Regions from separate parts of the Homo sapiens genome. Here region 1 is linked to region 2. Evidence: promoter capture Hi-C in human tissues and cell types (Jung and others, 2019). All regions are on one chromosome and are shown on one strand. Each heading gives the region's core, a stretch centred on a gene start or on the middle of the fragment in contact. The rest is flanking DNA. Distances are from core to core; before and after follow the strand shown.

Evidence for each region. The method cuts DNA at HindIII sites, captures the fragments that hold promoters and counts their contacts. A contact is called where the count stands out against the background at its distance.
Region 1: a fragment that was not itself captured here is called in contact with the fragment with the promoter of SPI1 in region 2 in 2 of the 25 tissues and cell types used here (IMR-90 fibroblasts and psoas muscle).

What each region holds. Positions count from the first base shown.
Region 1 is chr11:47,302,860-47,306,613 of GRCh38, forward strand. All of the region lies in intron 24 of MADD (MAP kinase activating death domain), which reads left to right. Among named protein-coding and RNA genes, the nearest start is that of MADD-AS1, 33 kb to the left of the region's middle. The HindIII fragment of the contact is 7,250 bases long and covers 1-3,754 here.
Region 2 is chr11:47,377,240-47,381,022 of GRCh38, forward strand. It overlaps SPI1 (Spi-1 proto-oncogene), which reads right to left and starts at 1,308. Exons shown (of 5, transcript NM_003120.3): 1 at 1,070-1,308. The coding sequence starts at 1,114. RefSeq lists enhancers at 1-61, 732-781, 955-1,906, 1,402-1,471. The HindIII fragment of the contact is 21,953 bases long and covers 1-3,783 here.

The DNA.
Region 1 (3,754 bases), core at 706-3,205, 74 kb before region 2:
TGGTTTTCTGTAGAGATAAGGTTTGATTCTTTTCTTTTTCTCCTTTGTGTGTCTGTTCTACAAGTGGATTTCATACTTTTGTGTATTTTCATGATAGTAATTATCATCTTTTTACTTCCAGATGTAGGACTCCCTTGAGCATGTCTTGTAAGGGTGTGATGACTTCCTCATTTTTTTTTTCATGTCTGGGAAAGACTTAGTTTATCCTTCATTTCTGAAGCACAACTTTGCTGGGTATAGTATTCTTGACTGAGATTCTTTTTCTTGCAGCGCTTTGAATATATCATCCCATTCTCTACTGGCTTGTAAAGTTTCTGCAGAGAAATCTGTTAGTTTAATAGAGATTCCCTTAAATGTGACTTAACACTTTTCTCTTGCTGTTTTTTTTTTTTTTTTTTTTGAGACGGAGTCTCACTCTGTCACCCAGGCTGGAGTACAGTGGTGCAATCTCGGCTCACTGCAAGCTCCGCCTCCTGGGTTCACACCATTCTACCTCAGCCTCCTGAGTAGCTAGGACTAAGGTGCCTGCTACCATGCCTGGCTAATTTTTATGTATTTTTAGTAGAGACGGGGTTTCACCATGTTAGCCAGGATGGTCTCGATCTCCTGACCTCGTGATCTGCCTGCCTCGGCCTCCCAAAGTGCTGGGATTACAGGCGTGAGCCACTGCACCCGGCCTTCTCTGGCTGTTTTTAGAATTCTCTCTTTGACTTTTGACAATTTGACTGTAATGTACCTTGGAGAGGCCTTTTTTTTTTTTTTTTTTGAGACAGTCTCACTCTGTCACCCAGGCTGGAGTGTAGTAGTGTGATCTCAGCTCACTGCAACCTGCGCCGCTTGGGTTCAAGCTTTTCTCCTGCCTCAGCTTCCTGAGTAGCTGGGATTACAGGCATGCACCACCACGCTCGGCTAATTTTTTTGTATTTTTAGTAGAGATAGGATTTCACCGTGTTGGTCAGGCTGGTCTCGAACTCCTGACTTCAAATGATCTGCCCGCCTTGGCCTCCCAAAGTGCTGGGATTACAGGCGTGAGCCACCGCATCTGGCTGGAGAGGACTTTTTTGGGTTGAATCTGTTTGGGGACTTTTGAGCTTCCTGGATCTGGCTGTCCATCTCTCTCCCCAGACTTGGGAAGTTTTCAGCTATTATTTCATTAAATAAGTTTTTTATGCCTTTCCCCTTCTCTCTTTGGAAATCCAATAATATGAATATTTGTTTACTTAATGAGATCCCCTAAGTGTTGTAGACCTTCTTGACTGTTTTCCATTCTAACTTTTTTCCCTCTGACTAATTTCGAATGACTTATCTTCAAATATAGAGTCATTCTTCTGCTTGATCAAGTCTGCTGTTGTAGTTCTCTATTGTATTTTTTCCTTTTTTTTTTTTTTGAGACGGAGTTTCGCTCTTGTTGCCTAGGCTGGAATGCAATGGCACTATCTCGGCTCACCGCAACCTCTGACTCGTGGGTTAAAGCAATTCTCCTGCCTCAGCCTCCCAAGTAGCTGGGATTACAGGCATGCGCCACCACACCTGGCTAATTTTGTATTTTTTAATAGGGACGGGGTTTCTCCATGTTGCTTCGGCTGGCCTTGAGCTCCCAACCTCAGGCGATCCACCCACCTCACCTCCCAAAGTGTTGGGATTACAGGTGTGAGCCCCCACGCCTGGCCCTCTATTGTATTTTTTAAACTTTGTTCATTGAATTATTCAGCTGCAAGATTTCTGTTTTTTTGTTATGATTTTTATCTCTTTGTTGAATTTCTAATTCATATCATGAACTGTTCTTCTGATTTTGTTGAATCATCTATCTGTATTTTCTTGTATCTCATTGCATTTCCTTAAGATCATTACTTTTAATTTATTTTCTGGCAATTAATTGATTTCCTTTTCATTGGGGTCTATTACCAAAGAGTTATTATGTTCCTGTGGTGGAGTCATATGTCCTTGTTTTTTTCATGTTTCTTATGTCTCTGTGTTGATACCCCACATCTGGCAGAACAGTCACTTCTTCCAAACTCTCTGGAGTGGCTTTCATAGAGAAAGACTTTCACATGCAGTTGGGTTTTAGTGTGCCAGTTGGGAAGGGTATGGCAACTCTGTTTCTGGATAGATGTAGTGGTATGTTTTCTGTGTAGCTTCTTCAGCTGCATTCAACATGAGCAATAACTATGGGTGCCTCAAGAGTCCTAGGCTATAGAAGTGTGGCAGTGGCAGTGGTGGTATATGTTGTTAATATCCTTGGTGTCAAGGAGTTTTGGAGTCCTCCTATTCTCATTTTCCTCACAATGGAGTGACTCAGCCAAGAGAATCCCTCTTGGTGTCAGGTCTGACTGACATGGCCTACAAGCAGCTGCAGAGGCACTGGGTTCCAGGTACAGATGCGTGGAGTAGCTGTGGAGTCAGGTTTCCAGGCTTAGGGTCTCACAAACCTATTGTGGCACCTGGGTATTGGGGTACAGATTTGCTCTCTGTGGCAAGGTTGGATGTAGGTTGCCCACAGAGCCAGGATCTGAGGCACCCGCTAGCAGCTCAGGCCCAGGGGACTGGCTCATAACTGTGATTCTAATACTGGGGGATAGGCCATAGCACTGGCCTTACTCTGTGGAAGAAGGGGTGCTCTGGAGGTTTGGGCCTAGGGAGCAGGGTACAGCTGCAATTCAGGGATCTGAGCCAATAGGGCTCAGTGGCAGCTCAGGTCCCACGGAATGAGGCACCATGTAGTAGTGACTCTAGACTCCAGGATGGTGGGGCTTGGCTGTATCCTAGACTCTGTGAAGCCAAGTGCAATGGCAGCGAATACCCCAGCGTGGCAGAGCACAGCTGTCATTTGGGCCCTGGGGGTCAGGGAGCAGCACAGCAATGACTCCACTCCCCAGGAAGAGGGTATCTTAGCAGCTCAGACTCTAGGGGCAAGTCCAGTTCCAGGGAAGCAGGGTACTGGAGTTGTTTGGCTAGGGCAAGGTATCTCAGCTCAGCCACTGCTCTGTTTCCTGGGACATGGGGTACTGTGTCAGCTCAGCCCTGGAATGCGTAGCTGCTCAGCTTGGCCAGCCACCAATTCCCCTGGGGACAATGTGCTGCTTTAGCACAGGCCTAGTGTGGGCATGACTGTTCTGGGTGACCCAGGCACAGTATCATTGGAATGCAGGGTGCCGCTTCAAGTTAGGTGCTAGGATGCATGACTGCCCTGGGTGGCCAAGGCACCATTTCCTGGGATACAGATTGCTTCTTCACCTTAGGCACCAGGGAGGCCTGACTGCTCTGAGCAGTCTAAGTACTGTTTTCATAGTGGATAGGGTACTGCTTCAGCTGCAGCCCAAGGGGAGTGGGGAGGGGTAGGTGGAGTGGCTCTGCCTCCACTTGGCCCCTTGGGGAATCATGTAATAGCTGCTCACAGCTTGGCTTAGATTGTCAAGACATCAGGCTAGAGTGGTTTGTTGGTGGCTTAGCCTCAGGAATGAAGGGGAGCTGTGGCCATCTGTCCCCAGAGCAAAACACAATCCCACTGTAGCTCCACTTCCAAGATGGCATAGCACAGTAGCTGCACAGGCCACAGGGGCTGGCGCATAGTATTGGCTCCTTCTCTGGAGGGAGCACAGCTGTATGGACTCCAGGCAGCTCCTTCAGCTGGGCTTAGTGCCTAGAGGACTGTAGGGAAGCCAGTGGTGAAGTCTGTAGGTGTCCAAGGTGCTGGTGGCAGTTTCTAGAATTGTCTTGCTTACTTCCTTGCTGTGGGGAGAAGTTCCTCCTTGTT
Region 2 (3,783 bases), core at 58-2,557:
TCAGGCCTGGGGTGCCTCCCAGCCTCCTGGGGTGGCTCTGAGCCAGGGCATAGTGGGGGAAGGGAGCTGCCTCTAGACCAGGAAAGTGGATTCAGGTGGGCAGCCTGCCAAGCCCTTCCCGGCTCCCCTCAAGCCTCCTCACTCCTGAGAGGTCATGGGGTGGGAAAAGGGAGAAGGGTCCTTTCCGAGGGACCCTGGTCTGACACCTGCCTAAGGCTGCAACTGTCACTGAGAGTGAGGAGCAGTGGCGATCTGCCCTTCTCTTCTCGGGGTCCCCTGGGGCTCCCACTTCTTCACCCCCAAGACCCAGTCCCTGTCCTTGTCCCAGCCTCAGCCCCCATTCTCACTTATCACATGCTCACCCCAGGTCCCACCCAGCCCCAATCTCAGTCCTGGCCTTGTCCCAGCCCTGTCCCCTGCCGCGCCTCTCCCTGAACTCCAGCCCTGGGGCCAGCCCTAACTGCACTGTCTCAGCTCCACTCCTGGCTCCTTTCCAGCACCAGTCCCTGTCTCCTGTGGGTACCCCTGTGGGCCCATGGCCCTGACCCTTTGGTCAACAATCATGTCCTCTGTGCCAGGCCCCAGACTGGGCGTTGGGGACCCAGAGTTCCATCAGCTTTGGTTTCCAGGAGCCCCAAGGCCATGGGCCAAGACTTCTGCCCATTGCCTCCTGCCTTCAACCCCTTCCCATCCAGGGGACCGGCCTCCCCCAAGCCAGTCCCCCCATCTCCCTCCTCTACCTCTCTACCACCGCCTTCACCATCCTCAGCCCAGCACCCTCCCCAGGAGCCCCGGCCTCCGCCTGCCACCCGAGCCCTGTCTATAAATAACTGTTCAGGCCCCACCGATCACAGCCCCACCGTGGGCCTGGCCTCAGCCCGCCAGGGCATGCTCCGAGGAAGCCAATGGCCCCCTCGCTGGGTCTCAGGCCAGGAGTTCCAGGGAGGAAACCCTGACTTCCCACTGATAGCAAGCCAGGAGGGCAGTGGGTGGGCTGGCGGGTTCGTGGGCAGGCAGGCAGGCGTCCGAGGGCCACGGGTTGGGCTGGTGGAGGAGTCCCGGTACTCACAGGGGGGACGAGGGGAAACCCTTCCATTTTGCACGCCTGTAACATCCAGCCGGGCTCCGAGTCGGTCAGATCCCCTGCCTCGGTGGGGGCCAATGCAGAGCCCCTCAGGATGGGGTGCCCCGTCAGGGGCTGGACGGTCGTGGGGCGGGTGCAGGGCTCAGGCCTGCCCCCTGAGCTACAGGAGCCCTGGGTGAGCCCCCTCCCTTGACATTGCAGGGCCAGCACAAGTTCCTGATTTTATCGAAGGGCCTGCCGCTGGGAGATAGTCCCCTTGGGGTGACATCACCGCCCCAACCCGTTTGCATAAATCTCTTGCGCTACATACAGGAAGTCTCTGGCCGGCTGGGGCAGGTGGTGCTCAAAGGGCTGGCCTGGGAAGCCATGGGGTCCAGGCCCCCTGCCCAGAGGAAGCTGGGACTGAGAGGGATGACTTTGGGGGCTAAGCTGGGGAGGGAGGATGGGAGGGAGAACGTGTAGCTCTGCCACACCACTGGGAGGCTTTTGCTCTAACCCAACAAATGCCTGCTTCTTTTGAGATCCCTATGTAGCCAACAGTCACCTCATTGGGGTCAGAGCTGGAAGGGGTGGCCTCTTGGGGCCTCCACTTTCTGGAGTCAGCCTTCCTGGGTGAGGGCTCTGATCTAGCAGGCTATCAGGCCTGGCTCTTCCTGTGGCCCTGCACCCCCACTGCCTAGGCTATCCCTAGGCTGAGGCTGGGCTCAGGTGTAGGGTCTTCAGCATAGTGCTGCTTTCTTCCTTCCCTCTGAATCTGTTCACATGGGCTTCCCTACCACCAGAAGAGGGTCCTGGGTTCTTATACCCTCCCCTCCCAGCTTCTTGATTACCACATTCAAATCCCTAGGGCTCTGTTTCCAGCCCAGGTTTCTCAGTTTCCCCATCCCTTGGCAATGCCTGAATATCAATCTAACCCTCCTGGTTTACAAACCTTTCTTGCCTATCCACCATTCATCTGTTTTCCCATGCATCTATTTGTCTGTCTATTTGTCCATCCAGCTATCCATTCATCAAGCCCACCATGCATTCACTTATGTGTCCATTTATCCAACTGTCCGTTTGTTTGTTCATTCATCTGTCAGTCAATTCATCCACCCACCCATCTGTTTATCTACTTGTCTATCTAACCATCTATATGTCCATTAATCAGCCCGTCCACCTGCTATCAGTCCATCAGTCCACAATTCCATCTGTTTATCCATCTATGAATCTGCTCATCCATTCATCCACCTGTCCATCCATCCACCCATCCACTCATCCACCCATCTACCCATCCACTCATCTGTCCATCAACCCATCCATCATCCACCTACCCCTTCATTCATTCATCCATCCATCCACCAGTCCACTCATCCACCCATCTACCAATCCACCCACCTACCATTCCACCCATCTATTCATCCACCTATCCATCCATTCACCTATCAGCTTCGGTTTCCAGGAGCCCCATGAGAACAGGCAGTATTTGACTTTCTGTTTCTGCGTTGTTTCGCATATGATAATGTCCTCCAATTCCATCCATGTTGCTGCAAAGACATAATTTCATTCTTTTTTATGGCTGAATAGTATTTCATTATATATATATATAAATACAATATAACATGTTATTTATTCACTCACCCGTTGATGGACACTTATGTTGATTCTGTATCTTTGCTATTATGAATAGTGCTGTGATAAACATACAAATGCAGTATCTTTTTGGTATCACTCATCCATCCAGCCATCCATTCATCCATCCATCCATTCATCCACCTATCCACCCATCTACCCATCTACCCATTTACTCATCCACCTGTCCACCAATCCAGCTATCTACCCATTCATCCATCCACTCATCCACCTATCCATCCATCCACTCATTCATCCAGCCATCCACAAATCCACCCATCCACTTATCTATCCATCCATCCATTCATCCATCCACCAATCCACTCATCCACTTATCTATCCATCCATCCATTCATCCATCCATCCATCCACTCATCCACACATCTACCGATTCACTAATCCACCCATCCACCAATCCACTCATCTACCCATCCATCTATCCATCCATCCACTCATTCATCTATCTGTCTATCCACTTATCTGTCCATCCATGCATCTTCCCAATGTTGAGTTCCAGGCTCTAAGCTGAGCGCTGGGAAAACAAAAAAGTATTATACAAGACCCCTGCCTTCAGAGAGTTCCTGATCTTTTCTGGGGGGTGGAGGGATGAGTAGAGGCATTTTTGTTTTGTTGTTGTTGTTGTTGTTGTTGTTTTTCTGGCCCAGTGATCTCTGGTGAGTCCCCTCTGCTGGGAAGGAATTTTGAACATTCAGTGTCCTCCCCTGTATAATCTAACCCCTTGCTTTAAATTCCCACTCCACTAAGACAGGCCTGCCTTCTTGCCAGTGGATTCCTAGGCCACAAGTGTTTTTTCATTAGCAGCAAACACCAGAATTTCACAGCTCTGGGCTCACCATTAGATCTACTTGACTTCCACCTTCACTGACTTTGTATCTGCACTTGGGACTCTCCAAAGGCTCCAGGCCACAGGTCCTCAGGGCTCCCTAGGAACCTGACCAAGGCCTCTCCCAAAAAGGAGGGGAGGGACAGGTTGGCTTGGCATCAGTTCCATCCTTGTTCCCACTTCCCCATCAAGAAGGCCAAGCCCCAGCTGACTGGGTGCAGTGGGGTGTAAGGTTATCCACTCC